5 separate regions of the Homo sapiens genome follow, and regions 1, 3, 4 and 5 are each linked to region 2. The links are contacts of gene promoters, found by promoter capture Hi-C in blood cells and fetal thymus (Javierre and others, 2016). All regions are on one chromosome and are shown on one strand. Each heading gives the region's core, a stretch centred on a gene start or on the middle of the fragment in contact. The rest is flanking DNA. Distances are from core to core; before and after follow the strand shown.

Region 1 (3,981 bases), core at 828-3,327, 360 kb before region 2:
GTGTAGTCTAGTGTTTCTAAGTCAAGAAGGCCGTGACGTGTGTCACGGAGAAAAGACGTGTTACAGAAGCTTCATTCAGGCATCAGATCTAGTGCTATTGGCCGGGAGTTCAATGTTAATGAATCAAAAAATAAATATATATGTGATATATATATATATATGCGTGTATATATATAGATATGATTGATATATATATATGATATTCTAAAACAGAAACACACATAAAACAAAGTTATGGCTGGGCGCCGTGGCTCATGCCTGTAATCCCAGCACTTTGGGAGGCTGAGGCAGGCAGATCGTTTGAGCCCAGGAGTTGGAGACCAGCCTGGGCAACATGGTGAAATCCTAGCTCTACAAAAAATTAGCCAGGCCTGGCGGTGCATAGTCCCAGCTACTCAGCGTGTTGGGAGGCTGAGGTGGGAGAATGGCTTGAGTCCGGAAGGCGGAGGCTGCAGTGAGCCTAGATCACACCACCGCACTCTAGCCTGGGGGACAGAGTGAGACCCTGTCTAAACAAAACAAAACAAAAAAAGTTATATATTATTCAGTTGACAAAAACGTTGTGGTCAGAGGCTTTTGACAAAAATAGCAAGTGTTGGTGAGGATGTGGAAAAATAGGAACCCTTTGTGGGAATGTAAAATAGCGCAGTCGCCGTAGAAAACATTATCGTAGTTCTTCAAAAACTTAAAACATAGTTACCATATGACCCAGCAATACTTTTTCTTTTTTGAGACAGGATCTTACCCTGTCACCCAGGCAATGGTACAATCATGGCGCACTGCAGCCTTGACCTCCTGGGCTCAAGTAATCCTCCCACCTCAGCCTCCCAAGTAGCTGGGACCACAGGCACAGCTAATTTTTGTATTTGTTGTAGAGACACGGTTTCACCATGTTGCTGAGGTTGGTCTCAAACTCCTGGGCTCAAGCAATCCACCCACCTCAGCCTCCCAATTGCTGGGATTACAGGTGTGAGCCACCGCGCCTGGCCCAGCAATGCCACTTCTGAATACGTACACAAAAGAATTGAACTCAGTGTCTCAAAAAGATATTGGTACACCCGTGATCATAGCAGTATTATTCAAAAAAGCCCAAAGGTGAAAACAACCAGGCCGGGCGCGGTGGCTCACACCTGTAATCCTAGCACTTTGGAAGGCTGAGGTGAGAGGATTGCTTCAGGCCAGGAGTTGAAGACCAGCTTGAGCAAGATGACAAGACCCCATCTCTACAGAAAAAATTTAAGAATTAGCCAGCCGTGGTGGCATGCACCTGTAGTCCCAGCTACTTGGGAGGCTGAGGTGGAAGGATCCCTGGAGCCCAGGAGATAGAGGTTGCAGCGAGCTGTGATGGTGCCACTGCACTCCAGCCTGAGTGATGGAGAGAGACCTCCTCTGTAACATTAAGACTTTTTTTTAAAAAAAAGCTGAAAACAACCCAGTGTCTATTTATTGATGAATGAATGGATAAACAAAATGTGGTATATCCATACATGGAATATGATTCAGCCTTTAAAAGGATGGAAATTCTAGGCCAGGCATGGTGGCTCACGCCTGTAATTCCAGCACTTTGGAAGGCTGAGGCGGGCGGATCACGAGGTCGGGAGATCGAGACCATCCTGGCTAACATGGTGAAACCCCATCTCTACTAAAAATACAAAAAATTAGCCGGGCGTGGTGGCGGCCGCCTGTAGTCCCAGCTATTCCGGAGGCTGAGATGGGAGAATCGCTTGAATCTGGGAGGCGGAGCTTGCAGTGAGCTGAGATCGCGCCACTGCACTCCAGCCTGGGACAGAGAGCGAGACTCCATCTCAAAAATAAATAAATAAATAAATAAATGACTAAAGTGATAAATTTTATATTATGTGTATTTTACCACAATTAAAAATTTTTAAAGTCTTCCATTTAAACATGCACAACCTCTTCTATGAGTCACTATTACCAGCTCACTAAATTCTAGGCCAAGTGCAGTGGCTCACGCCTGTAATCCCAGCAGTTTGGGAGGCTGAGGCAGGAAGATCTTATGAGCCCAGGAGTTCAAGACCGGCCTGGACAATATAGTGAGACCCTGTCACTACAAAAAATAAACAAAAAAAATTATGTGGGCATGGTGGCACACGCCTGTGGTCCCAGTGACTCAGGTGGCTGAGGTGGGAGGATTGCCTGAGCACAGGAGTTTGAGGCTGCAGTGAGCTGTGATCGCGTCACTGCACTCCAGCCTGGGCAACAGAGCAAGACTCTATCTCTAAAAATAAATAAATAAGGTCCAGCACGGTGGCTGACGCCTGTAATCCCAGCACTTTAGGAGGCCGAGGCAGGCAGATCACGAGGTCAGGAGTTTGAGACCAGCCTGGCCAACATGGTGAAATCCTGTCTCTACTAAAAATACAAAAATTAGCCAGGCGTGGTAGCACGCGCCTGTTAACCCAGTTCCTTGGGAGGCTGAGGTAGGAGAATTGCTTGAACCTGGGAGGGGAGGGTTGCAGTGAGCTGAGATCGCACCACTGCACTCCAGCCTGGGCGACAGAGCGAGGCTCTGTCTCGAAAAAAATATAAATAAATAAATGAATAAATAAATTCTAAAATCCTTAACCCAGCTTTCGAAGCCTTTACAGTCAGATCACAACCTTTTCAAGCTCACTTCCCTTCTCCTATCTGCACCCACCATAGGCATCAACCACACACTTACCCTAGTTCCCATTTCCAGAAACTTCCCCTCTTTTAAACATGGTTAGAATCATGTAAAATAAGGGTAAACCCACCAGGTCTTGTCAGCATGACCAATGACTTTCTTCTGTGTCCACCCTCCAGTCTTCACTCGCTCATCCTTCAAGGCCCATCTCAAATGCCACCTCCCCCAGGAAGCCCACTTGACTCTTGACATCTGGCACTTTGTACCATGTGTCGGCTGCATCTGTCTCCCAAATTTGGCAACTGACAGCCATTCAGAGCGGACTGTGTCACGTCCCTCCTGAGTGAGTGAGTGCCTCTATCAGTGTCTTTCTCATAGAAATTACTAGAGAAATTAGGAACAGAAACAATGTGGGCCGGGTGCAGTGACTCATGCCTGTAATCCCAGCACCTTGGGAGGCTGAGGCGGATCACTTGAGGTCAGGAGTTCGAGACCAGCCTGAACAATATTGTGAAACCCTGTCTCTACTAAAAATACAAAAATTAGCTGGGCCCTGTGGCTCATGCCTGTAATCCCAGCACCTTGGGAGGCTGAGGCAAGAGGATCACTTAAGGCCAAGAGTTCAAGACCAGCCTGGGCAACATAGTGAGACCCCCATCTCTACCAAAAAAAAGAAAAAGAAAGAGAAAAATTAGCTGGATGTAGTGGTACACACCTGTAGTCCTAACTATTTGAGAGGCTAAGGTAGGAGGATCACTTGGGCCAAGGAGGTTGAGGCTACAGTGGGCTGTGGTCACACCACTCCACTCTAGCCTGGTCAACAGAGCAAGACCCTGCGTCTTAAAAAAAAAAAAACAAAATAAAATTTAAAAAGAACCCGGCTCACCATGTGCTCATCATGTATTCTTCCTGGGATTCACCAGGACTCTCTTAGAGCCTAAAAAGTGAGAAGCTATTTGCCATTTCATTTGATGGCTGAACTGGCTTTGCCTTTTTGTTTCTTTCTTCTTGTGCAATGACACCTGTCTTCTCATCTATTAAGCAAGGCTAGTTACTAGCTGCCCAGGATTGTTGGAACTATGTGTAAAGTAAGAGTAAACTGGGACCGAGAGTCTACTGGGTCCCCAGGAGCAACAAGAACAACCTTTTCCAGGCTGGATGCAGTGGCTCATGCCTGTAATCCCAGCACTGAGGGAGGCCAAGGTGGGTGGATCACTTGAGGCCAGGAGTTCAAGACCAGCCTGGGCAACATGGCAAAACCCCGTCTCTATTAAAAATACAAAAACTAGCCAGGCATGGTGGTGCACGCCTGTAGTCCCAGCTACTTGGGTGGCTGAGGCATGAGAATTGCTTGA
Region 2 (4,288 bases), core at 1,477-3,976:
GACCGCAGAGGACGAGGGCACCCAGCGGCTGACGTGTGCAGTAATACTGGGGAACCAGAGCCAGGAGACACTGCAGACAGTGACCATCTACAGTAAGAAGGGGCAGGGGCGGAGTGGGGCTTCTTGGGGGTGTGACCTGAACCCGGGGCGGGGCTCACTGTGTGCCTATTCCAGGCTTTCCGGCGCCCAACGTGATTCTGACGAAGCCAGAGGTCTCAGAAGGGACCGAGGTGACAGTGAAGTGTGAGGCCCACCCTAGAGCCAAGGTGACGCTGAATGGGGTTCCAGCCCAGCCACTGGGCCCGAGGGCCCAGCTCCTGCTGAAGGCCACCCCAGAGGACAACGGGCGCAGCTTCTCCTGCTCTGCAACCCTGGAGGTGGCCGGCCAGCTTATACACAAGAACCAGACCCGGGAGCTTCGTGTCCTGTGTGAGTGGGGCTGCTGGTCAATGGCCCCTATCCCCCAAGGCCCAATCTCCCTGAAGGTCCCATAAGGTCTTGCCTCCAAGTCCTGCCCCCACCCACCTCCATGTCATCTCATCGTGTTTTTCCAGATGGCCCCCGACTGGACGAGAGGGATTGTCCGGGAAACTGGACGTGGCCAGAAAATTCCCAGCAGACTCCAATGTGCCAGGCTTGGGGGAACCCATTGCCCGAGCTCAAGTGTCTAAAGGATGGCACTTTCCCACTGCCCATCGGGGAATCAGTGACTGTCACTCGAGATCTTGAGGGCACCTACCTCTGTCGGGCCAGGAGCACTCAAGGGGAGGTCACCCGCAAGGTGACCGTGAATGTGCTCTGTGAGTGAGCCGGCGGGCAGAGCTGGGTGGGGGCAGGGGCCATGGACCTAATGCAATCCTCACCGCCTGTTGTATCCTCCCCACAGCCCCCCGGTATGAGATTGTCATCATCACTGTGGTAGCAGCCGCAGTCATAATGGGCACTGCAGGCCTCAGCACGTACCTCTATAACCGCCAGCGGAAGATCAAGAAATACAGACTACAACAGGCCCAAAAAGGGACCCCCATGAAACCGAACACACAAGCCACGCCTCCCTGAACCTATCCCGGGACAGGGCCTCTTCCTCGGCCTTCCCATATTGGTGGCAGTGGTGCCACACTGAACAGAGTGGAAGACATATGCCATGCAGCTACACCTACCGGCCCTGGGACGCCGGAGGACAGGGCATTGTCCTCAGTCAGATACAACAGCATTTGGGGCCATGGTACCTGCACACCTAAAACACTAGGCCACGCATCTGATCTGTAGTCACATGACTAAGCCAAGAGGAAGGAGCAAGACTCAAGACATGATTGATGGATGTTAAAGTCTAGCCTGATGAGAGGGGAAGTGGTGGGGGAGACATAGCCCCACCATGAGGACATACAACTGGGAAATACTGAAACTTGCTGCCTATTGGGTATGCTGAGGCCCCACAGACTTACAGAAGAAGTGGCCCTCCATAGACATGTGTAGCATCAAAACACAAAGGCCCACACTTCCTGACGGATGCCAGCTTGGGCACTGCTGTCTACTGACCCCAACCCTTGATGATATGTATTTATTCATTTGTTATTTTACCAGCTATTTATTGAGTGTCTTTTATGTAGGCTAAATGAACATAGGTCTCTGGCCTCACGGAGCTCCCAGTCCTAATCACATTCAAGGTCACCAGGTACAGTTGTACAGGTTGTACACTGCAGGAGAGTGCCTGGCAAAAAGATCAAATGGGGCTGGGACTTCTCATTGGCCAACCTGCCTTTCCCCAGAAGGAGTGATTTTTCTATCGGCACAAAAGCACTATATGGACTGGTAATGGTTACAGGTTCAGAGATTACCCAGTGAGGCCTTATTCCTCCCTTCCCCCCAAAACTGACACCTTTGTTAGCCACCTCCCCACCCACATACATTTCTGCCAGTGTTCACAATGACACTCAGCGGTCATGTCTGGACATGAGTGCCCAGGGAATATGCCCAAGCTATGCCTTGTCCTCTTGTCCTGTTTGCATTTCACTGGGAGCTTGCACTATGCAGCTCCAGTTTCCTGCAGTGATCAGGGTCCTGCAAGCAGTGGGGAAGGGGGCCAAGGTATTGGAGGACTCCCTCCCAGCTTTGGAAGCCTCATCCGCGTGTGTGTGTGTGTGTATGTGTAGACAAGCTCTCGCTCTGTCACCCAGGCTGGAGTGCAGTGGTGCAATCATGGTTCACTGCAGTCTTGACCTTTTGGGCTCAAGTGATCCTCCCACCTCAGCCTCCTGAGTAGCTGGGACCATAGGCTCACAACACCACACCTGGCAAATTTGATTTTTTTTTTTTTTCCAGAGACGGGGTCTCGCAACATTGCCCAGACTTCCTTTGTGTTAGTTAATAAAGCTTTCTCAACTGCCTCAGCCTTGTGTGAGTTGAGGGGAGGTGTCACATCCAGCTGGAGTCCTTTCTAAGCAGCCACAGCCTGATCCTCCCACTTCCTCCCCCAAGAAAACATTGTGGGTTGATGGCCATACCCTGAGGTTCTGGTCCAAATCGGACTTTCTATGACCTTCTGGGTCTCTAGTGAAAACTAAAGACTCCTCTCCAGAAAAAAACATTTGGTTTCTAATGAGGCCTGGAATCTTATTCTTGACCTGGGGAGCGGAATCCCTTTTTGCAGTACTCCCGGGCCCTCTGTTGGGGCCTCCCCTTCCTCTCCAGGGTGGAGTCGAGGAGGCGGGGCTGCGGGCCTCCTTATCTCTAGAGCCGGCCCTGGCTCTCTGGCGCGGGGCCCCTTAGTCCGGGCTTTTTGCCATGGGGTCTCTGTTCCCTCTGTCGCTGCTGTTTTTTTTGGCGGCCGCCTACCCGGGAGTTGGGAGCGCGCTGGGACGCCGGACTAAGCGGGCGCAAAGCCCCAAGGGTAGCCCTCTCGCGCCCTCCGGGACCTCAGTGCCCTTCTGGGTGCGCATGAGCCCGGAGTTCGTGGCTGTGCAGCCGGGGAAGTCAGTGCAGCTCAATTGCAGCAACAGCTGTCCCCAGCCGCAGAATTCCAGCCTCCGCACCCCGCTGCGGCAAGGCAAGACGCTCAGAGGGCCGGGTTGGGTGTCTTACCAGCTGCTCGACGTGAGGGCCTGGAGCTCCCTCGCGCACTGCCTCGTGACCTGCGCAGGAAAAACACGCTGGGCCACCTCCAGGATCACCGCCTACAGTGAGGGACAGGGGCTCGGTCCCGGCTGGGGTGAGGGGAGGGGGCTGGAAGAGGTGGGGGAAGGGTAGTTGACAGTCGCTCTATAGGGAGCGCCCGCGGACCTCACTCAGAGGCTCCCCCTTGCCTTAGAACCGCCCCACAGCGTGATTTTGGAGCCTCCGGTCTTAAAGGGCAGGAAATACACTTTGCGCTGCCACGTGACGCAGGTGTTCCCGGTGGGCTACTTGGTGGTGACCCTGAGGCATGGAAGCCGGGTCATCTATTCCGAAAGCCTGGAGCGCTTCACCGGCCTGGATCTGGCCAACGTGACCTTGACCTACGAGTTTGCTGCTGGACCCCGCGACTTCTGGCAGCCCGTGATCTGCCACGCGCGCCTCAATCTCGACGGCCTGGTGGTCCGCAACAGCTCGGCACCCATTACACTGATGCTCGGTGAGGCACCCCTGTAACCCTGGGGACTAGGAGGAAGGGGGCAGAGAGAGTTATGACCCCGAGAGGGCGCACAGACCAAGCGTGAGCTCCACGCGGGTCGACAGACCTCCCTGTGTTCCGTTCCTAATTCTCGCCTTCTGCTCCCAGCTTGGAGCCCCGCGCCCACAGCTTTGGCCTCCGGTTCCATCGCTGCCCTTGTAGGGATCCTCCTCACTGTGGGCGCTGCGTACCTATGCAAGTGCCTAGCTATGAAGTCCCAGGCGTAAAGGGGGATGTTCTATGCCGGCTGAGCGAGAAAAAGAGGAATATGAAACAATCTGGGGAAATGGCCATACATGGTGGCTGACGCCTGTAATCCCAGCACTTTGGGAGGCCGAGGCAGGAGAATCGCTTGAGCCCAGGAGTTCGAGACCAGCCTGGACAACATAGTGAGACCCCGTCTATGCAAAAAATACACAAATTAGCCTGGTGTGGTGGCCCGCACCTGTGGTCCCAGCTACCCGGGAGGCTGAGTTGGGAGGATCCTTTGAGCCCTGAAAGTCGAGGTTGCAGTGAGCCTTGATCGTGCCACTGCACTCCAGCCTGGGGGACAGAGCACGACCCTGTCTCCAAAAATAAAATAAAAATAAAAATAAATATTGGCGGGGGAACCCTCTGGAATCAATAAAGGCTTCCTTA
Region 3 (4,442 bases), core at 1,306-3,805, 360 kb after region 2:
CTCTCTGCCAAGTTCCTTTATCTGGGTATATTCCCTGCCTCCAACCACACTGTGCTGTGATAGTTAATTTTAGGTGTGAACTTGGCTGGATTAGAAAATACTCAGATTTGAGCTGTGATGTGGTAAAAATAAGACAAAGAAAAAAAAAAAAACAGTGGCTGGGCTCCGTGGCTCACGCCTGCAATCAGCACTTTGGGAGGCCGAGGTGGGCAGATCGCTTGAGCTTGAATTCGAGACCAGCCTGGGCAACATGTGGAAAGCTTGTCTCAACAAAAACTATGAAAATTAGCAGGGTGTGGTGGTCATGCACATGTTGTCCCAGCTACTCAGTAGGATGAAGTGAGAAGGTCACTTTAGCTCAGGGGGTGGAGGGTGCAGTGAGCTGAGATCACACTACTGTGCTCCAGCCTGAGCGACAGAGCAACACGTCTGATAAAGCATTATTTCTGGGTGAGCGCCATCCAACTTGCTGGGGCTCCGACAGAACAGAAAAAGGAGAGAAAGCATTTTCCTCCTCAGAACTGGGACACTCTTCTCCTCCTGTCTTGACACTCCAAGACTTATACCAGTGATCCCTGGTTCTCAGGCCTTCGGCCTTGGACTGGGAATTACACCATTGGTGTCCCTGGCTCTGAAGCTTTAGGATTCAGACTGAGCCTCGCTACTGGCTTTGCAGGGTCTTCAGCTACTGGAGCTGCTGGCTTTTCAGGGTCTGCAGTCAATGCATGTGGTAGGACATCTCAGCCTCCATGATCACATGAGCCAATTATTCTGCTAAATCCCCTCTCATCTACCTACCTCCTATTAGCTTTCTCGGAGAAACCTAGTAATACACACATCATACATTTTCCTGGCCTTTTTTTTTTTTTTTTTTTTTTTTTGAGATGGAGTCTTGCTCTGTCACTCAGGCTGGAGTGCAGTGGCACGATCTAGGCTCACTGCAAGCTCCGCCTCCCGGGTTCACGCCATTCTCCTGCCTCAGCTCCTGAGTAGCTGGGACTACAGCTGCCCGCCACCACCCCCGGCTAATTTTTTTGTATTTTTCGTAGAGACAGGGTTTTACCATGTTAGCCAGGATGGTCTCGATCTCCTGACCTCATGATCCGCCTGCCTTGGCCTCCCAACGTGCTGGGATTACAGGCATGAGCCACCGCACGCAGCTACATTTTCCTGGCTTTAAGATGAGAAGTCTTCTCTTTTTTTGAGACGGAGTCTCGCTCTGTCGCCCAGCCTGGAGTGCAGTGGCATGATCTTGGCTCACTGCAACCTCCGCTTCCTGGGTTCAAGCAATTCTCTGCCTCAGCCTCCCGAGTAGCTGGGATTACAGGAGCCCGCCACCATGCCCGGCTAATTTTTGTATTTTTAGTAGAGATGGAGTTTCACCATCTTGGCCAGGCTGCTCTTGAACTCTTGAACTCTTGATCCACCCACCTCGGCCTCCCAAAGTGTTGGGATTAGAGGGCCAGAAAAGTCTTTTCTTGCTCCTAAGTCTCAGGCCTGGAGCTCACTGACTCTGACCAGCCTGATTATGATCATTTACTCATTGTAAATCATTGAGTCAATCATTGTAGTCAAGGTGTGGGCCTAGTTTGGGAGTCAGGCAGCAGGGACCTGCCATCTAGACTACAGTTTGATCAAGGGAGAGGAATGGTTCCCCAACAACTGTGGTCATCCCACAGTGTCCATCCCAGAGTGGTCACCCATGTCCACCCTGGGGGGGGGCAAGAAGGGAACAGGCATAGGACAAAAAGCTTTCGAGAGGGAAGTTAACTGGGTGTGATTGGGAGAGTGGGTGGAATCTTTCAAGATGAGGAAGACAATGAATAGAGAGGCTGTAAGGACAGCAGAGTCACTGAGAGTGACAGGACCTGTCTAGACTGACAGATTACAAGAGGGGGATGACCTCAATCTTCAACCAATGAGTGGGAGGGAGGGAAGAGAGAAGGAATAGCCAGATGACAGATGATGTCACTAAGGCAAGGAGGAGAGAATGGTGTTGTATACAGGGTTTGTGACCACTGAGTGGTGGAAGGACAAGGGCAGAGGTGCGAGGTCGGGTCAGGGTAGCAGTTCAGCAAGACAGGGCAGATGGCATCTTGTGTCTTCCATCCTTTACGGTGACCAGGGACTAGGAACCTGATGGATGGGGTTTATTGGAAAGTTGGGCTGAAAACTTTTTACTTCAAAAAATTTTTTTCTTTTTCCTTTTTTTTTTTTTTTGAGACGAAGTCTCACTCTTGTCCCCCAGTCTGGAGTGCAATGGTGCAATCTCAGCTCACTGCAACCTCCGCTTCCTGGGTTCAAGTGATTCTCCTGCCTCAGCCTCCCGAGTAGCTGGGATTACAGGTGCGTACCACCACGCCCAGCTAATTTTTTATATTTTAAGGAGAGATGGGGTTTCACCATGTTGGCCAGGCTGGTCTCGAACTCCTGACCTCAAGTGATCCACCCGCCTCGGCCTCCCAAAGTGCTAGGATTAGAGGGTGAACCACCACACCTGGCCCTTTCTTTTTTTTTTTAGACACAGTCTCCCTGTCACCCAGGCTGGACTGTAGTGGCTTGATCTCGGCTCACTGCAACCTCCACCTCCCAGGTTCAAGCGATTCTCGTGCCTCAGCCTCCCGAGTAGCTGGAATTACAGATGCCAGCCATCATGCCCAGCTACTTTTTGTACTTTTAGTAAAGACAGAGTTTCACCATGTTGGCCAGGGTGGTCTTGAACTCCTGACCTCAAGTGATCCACCAATCTCGGCCTCCCAATGTGCTAGGATTACAAGTATGAGCCACTGCCCCCAGCCTTCTTTTTGTTTTTATTCTTGAAAACTTTTTTTTTTTTTAATGTAGAGATGGGGCTGGGTGCAGTAGCTCATGCCTGTAATCCCAGCACTTTGGGAAGCCAAGGTGGGTGGATAACTTGAGGTCAGGAGTTTGAGACCAGCCTGGCCAACATGGCAAAACCCAGTCTCTACTAAAAATACAACAATTAGCTGACCATGGTGGTGTACGCCTGCAATCCCAGTGACTTGGGAGGCTAAGGCAGAATTGCTTAAACTCGGGAATTGGAGGTTGCAGTAAGCTGAGATTGTTATCACTGCACCCTAGCTGGGACTACAGAACGAGACTCCATCTCAAAAATAAATAAATAGATAGATAGATAAAAAACATAGAGATGGGGTCTCACTATGTTGCCCAGACTGGTCTTGAACTTCTGGGCTCAAGCAATCCCCCTGCCTCAGCCTCCCAAAGTGTAGGATTACAGGCATGAGCCAGCATGCCTGGCCAAGACAACATTTTTCAGGAAGTTCTGGTTGGATGGGGCACCCGTTCAAGAGGTAACAATCATAACCATTACTGTTTTTGAAGCTTTAACTCCATGCCAGGTACTGAAGCAACCCCTTGATGTTGAATTAACTCCGAATCAGTCCTCCTCCAAATCAAACCCTAGGAGGTTTGGGTTTGATCCAAAGACTGTGCTTGTCATCATGACCCTATCCGCCCTTTACTGTGTTTGGGGTCCCTGGGGCAAGAAACGCCTTAGCGGAATGAGATCTTCAAAAGCGTTTTAAGTAACCTTAGGCTCTCTGGAGTTGGGAGTCAGAAAACTAGTAACCATCCTCGTTCTGCCATTTGGCAGTGCTGTTAGCTCAAGCAAGTCACTAAAACTGACCTGTTCCGAAAAAAAGCCAGTCTAGGCTTTGTTATTAACATTCGTTATTATCACAGTGACCTTCAACAATTTAAAGCTTTAACCAATTTTTTGGTTTTGTTTTTGTTTTTTTGAGACAGGGCTTCTGTTGCCTAGGCTAGAGAGCAGTGGCCCAATCTCAGTTCACTGCAGCCTCAACCTCCTGGGCTCAAATGATCCTCCCACCTCAGCCTCCTGAGTAGCTGGGACTACAGGTGTGTTCCACCATGCCCTGGCATTTTAACCAATTTTATCTTAGTGCATGCCCCAATCATCTTACCAAACCTTTCTTCAATTTCCAGCTCTATTTGTGAGACAGATCTGAGGCACAGGAAATGAAATTAAAAAGCCTGGTGCAGAATAACTTATCAATTTATGTGAAAAACAAGAATATGATTATGCACCTCTGAAAATAAAACTCTACTGTAGTTACACAAAAAACTGTACAATGGCTGGTCGCGGTGGCTCACGCATATAATCCTAGCACTTTGGGAGGCCGAGGCGGGTGGATCACGAGGTCAGGAGATCGAGACCATCCTGACTCACCCGGTGAAACCCAGTCTCTACTAAAAATACAAAACATTAGCCGGGCGTGGTGGTGGGCGCCTGTAGTCTCAGCTACTCGGGAGGCTGAGGCAGGAGAATGGCGTGAACCCAGGAGGCGGAGCTTGCAGTGAGCCAAGATCGTGCCACTGCACTCCAGCCTGGGAGACAGAGCAAGACTCCGTTTCAAAAACAAAAAACAAAAAACAAAACT
Region 4 (4,421 bases), core at 1,068-3,567, 310 kb after region 2:
TCCCACAGTGCTGGGATTATAGGCGTGAGCCATCTCGCCCAGCCTAAAGCCCAAGACTTTATGTTGCTTCTGCCCAAAGGAGGGGGGTGGTCCTTCATGCTCCCAGCAACTGCCTGCTGAGAAGGTCACCTAGGGGGATGCAGTCACTGCTAGGCCCTCACCCCAGCCTAGACATTGCTGAACCTCAAAATAACTCGTCTCCTGGCAGCCGGGCGTGGTGGCTCACGCCTGTAATCCTAGCACTTCGGGAGGCTGAGGTGGGTGGATCACCTGAGGTCAGGAGTTTGAGACCAGCCTGGCCAAAATGGTGAAACCCTGTCTGGACTAAAAATACAGAATTAGCCGGGGGTGGTAGCACATGCCTGTAATCCCACCTACTCAGGAGACTGAGGCAGGAGAATCACTTGAAACTGGGAGGCAGAGGTTGCAGTGAGCCAAGATTGCGCCATTGCACTCCAGCCTGGGGCAATAGAGTGAGACTCTGTCTCAAAAACAACAACAACAACAAAATGAAGAACTCATCTCCTGGGGCCCTGAGATGTTTTCAGGCAGTAAGCAGAACCCGAAAGCCTGGGCCCAGTGCCCTGGAATCTGAAACTCCAGGCTTGTTTGGCATGAAAAATTCATGAGCCCAAAAGCTTACTTGGGGTCAGAGAACAGAGCAGCTCTGTGTGCTGGCTCTGCCTGCCCCGCCTGCCCCACCTCAGTGGCGGCCTCCCCCATCCCCCTGAGGCTGTGGCCTTGTCCTAGTTCCTTCTGGATGCCTGGAGCCTCCTCCAGCCTCTCCCAGGGACCACGCCTCTAGGCCCTGTCCACAATCCCTTCTCCACACCACTAAAGAGATCTCTCTGAAACTCACAATTATTTTTTGACTCTCACTCTCACATCCTCTATGGCCCCCCATTGCCCTCCAACCACCCCCACCTGGCACAGTCAGACACCTGCTGACCTCTGCCACAGGACACCACCTGAACCTGCTGTCCCAGACACCCTAACTGCCCGAATTTCAGTTCCTCTCCTGCTGTCTCAAGCCATCCTCCCACCTCAGCCTCCCAAGTAGCTGAGACTATAGACACGTGCCACCACAGCTGGCCACCTTAGCCATTTTGAAGTGCACAGTTCGGTGGCATTAAGCACATTAATGGCCATGCAACCGTCACCACCATCCATCTCCAGAACTTTCTCATCTTCCCAAAGGAAAACTTCTCCCTATGAAACACTCCTTCTCCCTCTCCCAACCCCTGGCACCCACTCTTCTTCTTCTTCTTCTTCTCCTTTTCCTTCTCCTCCTCCTCCTTCTTCTTCTTCTTTTCTTTTTTTTATTTATTTTGAGATGGAGTCTCACCGTCACCGAGGCTTGAGTGCAGTGGCACAATCTCGGCTCACTGCAGCCTCCATCTCCTAGGTTCAAGCAGTTCTCCTGCCTCAGCCTCCTGAGTAGCTGGGATTACAGGCGCCCCCCACCACGCCCAGCTAATTTTATTTTTTTATATTTTATTTATTCATTTACTTTTATTATTTTATTATTATTTTTTTTTGAGACAGAGTCTCGCTCTGTTGCCCAGGCTGGAGTGCAGTGGCACGATCTCAGCTCCCTGCAAGCTCTGCCTCCCGGGTTCATGCCATTCTCCTGCCTCAGCCTCCCGAGTAGCTGGGACTACAGGTGCCTGCCACCACACCCGGCTAATTTTTGTATTTTTAGTAGAGGCAGGGTTTCGCCATATTGGCCAGGCTGGTCTCTTGGCCAAGCTGGTCTGGAACTCCTGACCTGGAGATGTGCCTGCCTCAGCCTCCCAAAGTGCTGGGATTATAGGCGTGAGCCGCCGCGCCCAGCTTTTTTTTCTTTTTTTTTTGAGACGGATTCTCACTTTGTCGCCCAGGGGCTGGAGTGCAGTGGCGCAATCTCAGCTAATTGCAACCTCCTCCTTCTCCTAGTTCAAGTGATTCTCCTGCCTCAGCCTCCCAAGTAGCTGGGATTACAGGCATCTGCCACCACGCTGGGCTAATTTTTGTATTTTTGGTAGAGACTGGGTTTCGCCATGTTGACTAGGCTGGTCTCAAACTCCTGACCTCAAGTGATCCACCCATCTCAGCCTCCCAATGTGCTGGGATTACAAGTGTAAGCCACCATGCCCAGCTACTCAGGAGTCTGAGGTGGGAGGATCACTGGAGCCCAGAAGATTGAGGCTGCAGTGAGCTATGGTTGCACCACTGCACTCCAGCCTCGGTGACAAAGCAAGAACCTATCTTAAGAAAATACTGTGCTGAGCCAGTTCCTGAGAAAACAAAATAGAAAACAAAACTAAAGAAAAGGCAAAAGTTCCTCCCAGCAGAGATGTGAGAGAAAAAGAAAAAAAAAGTCCCCTGTGACACCCCCATACCCCAATCTTCGTCCCTCTCATAACCACTGGCTGATTCAGATCTTTTTCAGCTGGGTTACATGCAGGGGGGTGTGTGTGTGTGTTTGTGTGTGTGTGTGTGTGTGTGTGTGTGTGTGCGCGTGTTGCCCTCTTTCTCTCTCTTTCTCCCATACCATATAAGACTATACAACTTGTGGATGGGCACAGTGGCTCTCACCTGTAATCCCAGAACTTTGGGAGGCAGAGGCGGGTGGGGCACTTGAGGCCAAGAGTTCAAGAGCAGCCTGGGCAACATGGCAAAAAATCTGTCTCTACTAAAAATATAAAAACTGGCCAGGTGTGGTGGCTCACGCCTGTAATCCCTGCACTTTGGAGGCTAAGGCAGGTGAATCACCTGAGGTCAGGAGTTTGAGACAAGCCTGGCCAACATGATAAAATCCTGTCTCTACTAAAAATACAAAAAATTAGCCAGGTATGCTGGCGGACACCTGTAATCCCAGCTACTCGGGAGGCTGAGGCAGGAGAATTGCTTGAACCCAGGAGGCAGAGGTTGCAGTGAGCCGAGATCATGCCACTGCACTCGAGCCTGGGTGACAGAACAAGAATCTGTCTCAAAAACAAAACAAAACAAAACAAACAAGCAACAACAACTATATATATATATATATATATGTATATAGACTAAGCTGGGCATGGTGGTGCGTACCTGAAATCCCAGCTACTCCAGAGGCTGAGGCACACAAATCACTTGAACCCAAGAGAAGGAGGTTTCAGTGAGCTGAGCTCGCACCACTGCACTCCAGCCTGGGCGACAGAGAGAGACTCTGTCTTAAATAAAAAAAAAAAAATACAACTTGCTATTATCACTCAACAATATGACCTGGACGCTACTCCGGAAAGCATGTGGTTGAAGGGGAAGGAAGTGTGTCTTGGGTGTAAAGTCGGACTCCCTGGGTTCAGATCCTTGCAGAGCCACGGGCTCATTATGTTACTGTGGGTAAATTACTTCACCTCTCTGGGTCACTTTCCCCAATTGGAAAATGATTATAATGATTTAATACAGAGTGCTTGGGCCAGACGCGGTGTCTCACGCCTGTAATCCCAGCACTTTGGGAGGCCGAGGCGGTGGATCATGAGGTCAGGAGATTGACACCATCATGGCTAAGACAGTGAAACCCGTTCTTCACTAAAAATACAAAAAACTAGCTGAGCGTGGTGGTGGGTGCTGTAATCCCAGCTACTCAGAAGGCTGAGGCAGGAGAATTGCTTGAACCCGGGAGGCAGATGGTGCAGTGAGCTGAGATCACGCCACTGCACTCCAGCTTGGCGACAGAGTGAGACTCCATCTCAAAAACTAAAACAAACAACAACAACTATATACACACACACACACACACATACACACACAGAGAGCACTTTACTGGGTGAGCCAAGATCGCGCCACTGCCCTCCAGCAGCCTTGGTTCAAAAAAAAAAGGTGCTTGGCCAGCATGGTGGCTCATGCTTGTAATCCCAGCACTTCAAGAGGCCAAGATGGGCAGATCGATTGAGGCTAATGAGACCTGGTCTCTATTTCAAAAAAAAGAAAAAGAGTTAAAAAAATATATAAAGCATTTAATACCTTGTCTGACACTGACTAAGCTTTCTATAAACATTCACTCTTTCTTTCCTTTTTTTTTTTTTTGAGACCGAGTCTCGTTCTGTCACCCAGGCTGGTGTGCAATGGTGCACTCTTGGATCACTGCAACCTCTGACTCCCAGGTTCAAGTGATTCTCCTGCTTCAGCCTCCCAAGTAGCTGGGATTACATGCATGTGCCACCACACTCGGCTAATTTTGTATTTTTAGTAAAGACGGGATTTCTCCATGTTGGTCGGGCTGGTCTCGAACTCCCGACCTCAGGTGATCCGCCCGCCTCGGCCTCCCAAAGTGCTGGGATTACAGGTGAGAGCCACTGCGTCTGGCCTTAGAGACAGATTTTCATCGTGTTGTCCAGGCTAATCTTGAACTCCTGTCCTCAAGTGACCCTCCTGCCTCCCAGAGTGCTGGGATCACAGATGTG
Region 5 (4,437 bases), core at 1,734-4,233, 390 kb after region 2:
TCCTGACCTTGTGATCCGCCCACCTCAGCCTCCTAAAGTGCTGGGATTACAGGCGTGAGCCACTGCACCTGGCCTAACATTGCTTTTTTGTTTGTTTGTTGTTTTGTTTTTGTTTTTGTTTTTGAGATAGAGTCTCGCTCTGTCGCCCAGGCTGGAGTGCAGTGGTGTGATCTCAGCTCACTGCAAGCTCCGCCTCCCGTGTTCACGCCATTCTCCTGCCTCAGCCTCCCGAGTAGCTGGGACTACAGGTGCCTGCTACCACGCCCGGCTAGTTTTTTGTATTTTTAGTAGAGATGGTGTTTCACCGGGTTATCCAGGATGGTCTCGATCTCCTGACCTCGTGATCCACTCACCTCGGACTCCCAAAGTGCTGGGATTGCAGGCATGAGCCACGGCTCCCAGCCCTACCATTGCATTTTTAAGCACCGTTTGGAAATCGCTTCTTTCACTAGTTATCCCTCTTTCAAGTACCCAAAACGTGGCCAAAGACCTGGCCAATTAGAGAGACCCTGACATCCCAGGTGAAATCACTTCCGGGTCATCATACTCAAGACGTTGGCCTTTCTGTTGCAGGAATAGGTGGAGCCAGATAAAATTGTTGATTGCTTTGAGGAGAAAGTGTTTTGAAAGTTGCATTTTATTTTTTAGGCTGTAACAGAAGACAAGTACGAAATACTGCAATCTGTCGACGATGCTGCGATTGTGATAAAAAACACAAAAGAGCCTCCATTGTCCCTGACCATCCACCTGACATCCCCTGTTGTCAGAGAAGAAATGGAGAAAGTATTAGCTGGAGGTAGGGAGGCCGAGACACGCCGGCAGGACTTTGAAAATGTGGTGTTCCCTCACTATTCAAATGTGCTATTCAGTTTTAGACTGCTTTGGTATACGGTGTAGATTGACCACCTTTACTCTGAGATCACATCTCCCGTTGGCTTTGAGTACTTGGGAGTTTGACAAAACAGTCGCACTAAAAGTGAGTAGCACTTTTCATAGGGGACTGCACCATTTTCCTTTATCTTCATCCTTGAACGTTCTCAAACATGAATGTGGAAGTTGCTTTTCTATGGAGCCATTCTCTGGCTGTGGAGAAGTGTCCCTGGTGATTCCATGGTTTTAAAGATGAGACAACCAGATGGTTTCTGCATGAGCACCACGTTGGAGTTTACCAACAGCCTGTGCTGCAGCTGAGCTGAGGGCCTCTTCGTTTGTCCTCTGTCATGGCTCTTTTATCATTTAAAGTGACAGAAGCACAAAGAGCTGATACAGAGTTTTGGATAAAGTTTTAAACTGTTGTCCAATTTTTCAAACCACATCATTGGACCTCACGCTAATAATGTGCTCGCAGTCCATGGCCCGCCGCTCGCATGCCTGTCTTCAGGCCTTATCCAAACCCCTGGTGTGCAGATGGCAGAGAAGATAAACGCTCTGCTTGGCCGCAGCATAGGCTGGCATAGCGCCCTTGTTGCTGTTTACCTTTGGTTCTCATAGCTGATTCCGACTACCAAAGCCCTTCTAGTTGATCAACGTAGGGACGCTGGACCTTTGACCAACAGGACTCTCTCTGTCAAGGGCTGGGGCTAGGGCAGTCCCGCCTGGTGGGCGGAGTTGGTCCCCTTTGCTGCAGATGCCTTGGGATGGCTGTTGTGTGATGCAGAGAGGGAGTTCATTTCCTCTCCCTCGGCCTTTTTAAATTTTTTCCTATTGAACATTTTAGCATAGCTAATTTATTGGGAGAACATGGGGAGGAGGCAAGGGAAGAGGATTAGAAGATAGGCTCCACCTATCTCTCCCCTCCCTCATGAGATTATTCCTTTTAGAATAACTCCCCACTTTTGTTTTTATGTTTGTTTTATTTTTTCTTTTTCTTTCTTTTTTCTTTTTCTTTTTATTTTTGGAGGGGGCCTCCAATTTTTACAATTTCCTCACAGGGCAGAGTTGAATGTGCTCTAGTTTCTCCTTCCCTGGTCCAGGGTGGAGATGAATTCAGCTTCTGGGAAACTCAGCTGCCCTTTAGAAAGCTGCCACATCCCCTTTCCACCTGACAGAAACCCCTTGGTCAAACTGTGCCTTGTCTTCTTATTCCATCCATGAATAGAAACGCTATCAGTCAACGACCCCCCGGACGTTCTGGACAGGCAGAAATGCCTTGCTGCCTTGGCGTCCCTCCGACACGCCAAGTGGTTCCAGGTTTGCATTTTGTTCTTCTATTTGTCTTTTGGTAGAGAATTCCTAAGTTTTAACTTGGCTAACTGTCACCATAAAGATTCCTTAACATTGACGATAGCCGTGCCGAGCTTAGCACCTGCAGCTGCGCAGGTCCTAAAGGAGTGCACCTCAACAAATTCGACCCCAAAAGAGGCTGAGACTGAGTTGGTGGGCTGCTGCTGCTGCTGCTGCTTTGTGTTAAGAGTAACACTCTCTTGTACACGTAGTGACATTGCGGCTGGCCACAGCCTTGGTGGTCGCCAGTGTTGACTGTTTACCCTTGGCAAAGCAGCAACCTGACACTTGTGTCGTTCATGTTGACTTGTGCCCTGGGCGGTGCCTCAGACTGAAGAGCCTGTGTTTTGTTCCCCTAGGCCAGAGCCAACGGGCTGAAGTCTTGTGTCATTGTGATCCGGGTCTTGAGGGACCTGTGCACTCGCGTGCCCACCTGGGGTCCCCTCCGAGGCTGGGTAAGGCATGTTGCTGTGGCTACTGGGGGTGGTGTGTGCAGAGTCTTTTGGATATCCCAGGAACACTTGATGGTCACGGGGCAGGAGTGGCCTCTTGACGCGTGGCTGGTGTGTACTCTCCAGAGCTGCCTGTGGAGCTGCTCCTGCTTGCCACACCTGGGGTTGGGGTTGGGGCAGTGTGGGTCGGGGCCCTCTGCAGGGTCGCACAGCTCAATCCCAGGAGTGGGGGCTGACCAGGAGGTGGGAATGATCCCTCTGGGAAGGTTTGTAGATAGTCTCACGCAGGACCAGTTTTTGGCAGTTGCACCCTTTTTTTTTTCAGCTTGCAGTTGAGGTGGTTTTTATATTTGTAAATAAATGGTTAGATTTTAAGTAAGAAGTACTACATCATAACCTTAGCTTGGTCTCTGAGCTCACACAGCCTGCTAGGATGTCATGTCTGGTCCTTGAAGGCCCCTGTCCTAGATGCCCTGGCTCAGGCTTAGCCCTGAGGCTTTGACTTTACCCGACTGGTTGGCTATGAGTCCCACGTGTGCCCCGACCCACTCATGCAGTGACAGCTCCCCAGTGGCGGCCGGCCCCATCCTGTAGGCTCTTGGCTCACTGTCCCTCTTCCCTTTCAGCCTCTCGAGCTCCTGTGTGAGAAATCCATTGGCACGGCCAACAGACCGATGGGTGCTGGCGAGGCCCTGCGGAGAGTGCTGGAGTGCCTGGCGTCGGGCATCGTGATGCCAGGTTGGGGCCTTGTGCTTTGCAGGTTGCAGGGAAAGGACAGGGTTCCAGGCCGCCTCCTGGCGGGTACACTGACTGGGTTAGGACAGCAGCAGCCCCGTGTCCACCCCCTAGAGCTGAAGCATGTGACTACCCTCTGGCACCATCATATCCAGCCCTGACCGGGTCCGCAGCCGTCATTCAGAGGGCGGATCCGGGGCAGTGGTGACCCACTCCCACGTGACTTTCTTGCTCTGAGACACTTGTGAATTATTTCTGTCAAGGGCTGGACGCCGAGTGGGTCACCGAGCTAGGCATGTTTTCCAGAGCTGGGTGTGGATGGGGCGCGGGGGGTAACACACCTAGTTCCCTCAGCCAGCACACCTCTTCAGAGATGCTAAAAGATAATCCTCTGCATATCTTCCTTGTTTCCTGCCTTCAGATGGTTCTGGCATTTATGACCCTTGTGAAAAAGAAGCCACTGATGCTATTGGGCATCTAGACAGACAGCAACGGGAAGATATCACACAGAGTGCGCAGGTATAGTCATCGCCATTGCCAACGTGCGCCCTGACCCAGTCTGTAATCACTGGCTTCCAGTTCCATTACTGGGTATTCCCAGGGTAGCCCCTGGACTCGTAGGCTCAGGTCGGGGACTGAAGGCAAAAGGATTGTGTCTGATACAGGGCGCCCCAATCTGGGCTGCTTCTTTCCCCTGGTGCCATGCGTGGTTTTCATCTGCCCCCTCCCTTGGCTTGCTCGAGTGCCGTTTTCAGACACTGTGAGTGGTGCTGGGAGATGTGTTTGCTGTGCGGACTGCTCCGGGGGGACCTTCCCCTGCAGGCCCCCACATGGCTCCGTGTGGCAACCAGTCCCCAGGTTGGGGTCTCCTGTATTCCTTTGGAAGGGGGGTGGTCACAGGCTGGCCTTCCCCCACAGCAAGGCTGGGCTTGAGCAGTCAGGCTCTCCCCTGGCTGGTGGGGGACCCCTTGCTGTCGTAAGGGAGACCATTAGCAGCCCTTCAGCTCTGCCCCTCCTCAGAAGGCAG

Evidence for each region. Contacts are between HindIII fragments. The CHiCAGO score rates a contact against its expected background, and 5 or more counts as called.
Region 1: a fragment that was not itself captured here is called in contact with the fragment with the promoter of ICAM4 in region 2 in 1 of 17 cell types (total B cells); the score reaches 6.7 in total B cells.
Region 3: a contact is called between a fragment that was not itself captured here and the fragment with the promoter of ICAM4 in region 2, in 1 of 17 cell types (M0 macrophages). The highest score is 6.8, in M0 macrophages.
Region 4: a fragment that was not itself captured here is called in contact with the fragment with the promoter of ICAM4 in region 2 in 1 of 17 cell types (monocytes); the score reaches 5.5 in monocytes.
Region 5: a fragment that was not itself captured here is called in contact with the fragment with the promoter of ICAM4 in region 2 in 1 of 17 cell types (activated CD4 T cells); the score reaches 5.7 in activated CD4 T cells.

What each region holds. Positions count from the first base shown.
Region 1 is chr19:9,924,745-9,928,725 of GRCh38, forward strand. The region is part of intron 1 of OLFM2 (olfactomedin 2); the gene reads right to left. Among named protein-coding and RNA genes, the nearest start is that of OLFM2, 9.8 kb to the right of the region's middle. The HindIII fragment of the contact is 4,021 bases long and covers 68-3,981 here.
Region 2 is chr19:10,284,229-10,288,516 of GRCh38, forward strand. ICAM4 (intercellular adhesion molecule 4 (Landsteiner-Wiener blood group)) reads left to right here and starts at 2,727. Exons shown (of 3, transcript NM_001544.5): 1 at 2,727-3,178; 2 at 3,308-3,610; 3 at 3,758-4,288. The coding sequence starts at 2,785. The coding sequence ends at 3,876. ICAM1 (intercellular adhesion molecule 1) reads left to right here. Exons shown (of 7, transcript NM_000201.3): 4 at 1-92; 5 at 175-429; 6 at 555-800; 7 at 887-2,387. The coding sequence ends at 1,059. It overlaps ICAM4-AS1 (ICAM4 antisense RNA 1), which reads right to left. Exons shown (of 1, transcript NR_186335.1): 1 at 1,573-4,288. RefSeq lists enhancers at 2,295-2,344, 2,399-3,368, 2,715-2,854. The HindIII fragment of the contact is 2,558 bases long and covers 2,372-4,288 here.
Region 3 is chr19:10,646,621-10,651,062 of GRCh38, forward strand. No RefSeq gene overlaps it. Among named protein-coding and RNA genes, the nearest start is that of ILF3-DT, 5.0 kb to the right of the region's middle. The HindIII fragment of the contact is 1,612 bases long and covers 1,750-3,361 here.
Region 4 is chr19:10,593,442-10,597,862 of GRCh38, forward strand. No RefSeq gene overlaps it. Among named protein-coding and RNA genes, the nearest start is that of AP1M2, 8.3 kb to the left of the region's middle. RefSeq lists enhancers at 203-727, 2,202-2,391. The HindIII fragment of the contact is 3,363 bases long and covers 637-3,999 here.
Region 5 is chr19:10,676,515-10,680,951 of GRCh38, forward strand. It overlaps ILF3 (interleukin enhancer binding factor 3), which reads left to right. Exons shown (of 20, transcript NM_017620.3): 5 at 649-796; 6 at 2,099-2,190; 7 at 2,583-2,678; 8 at 3,302-3,413; 9 at 3,832-3,929. Among named protein-coding and RNA genes, the nearest start is that of QTRT1, 23 kb to the right of the region's middle. The HindIII fragment of the contact is 7,906 bases long and covers 1-4,437 here.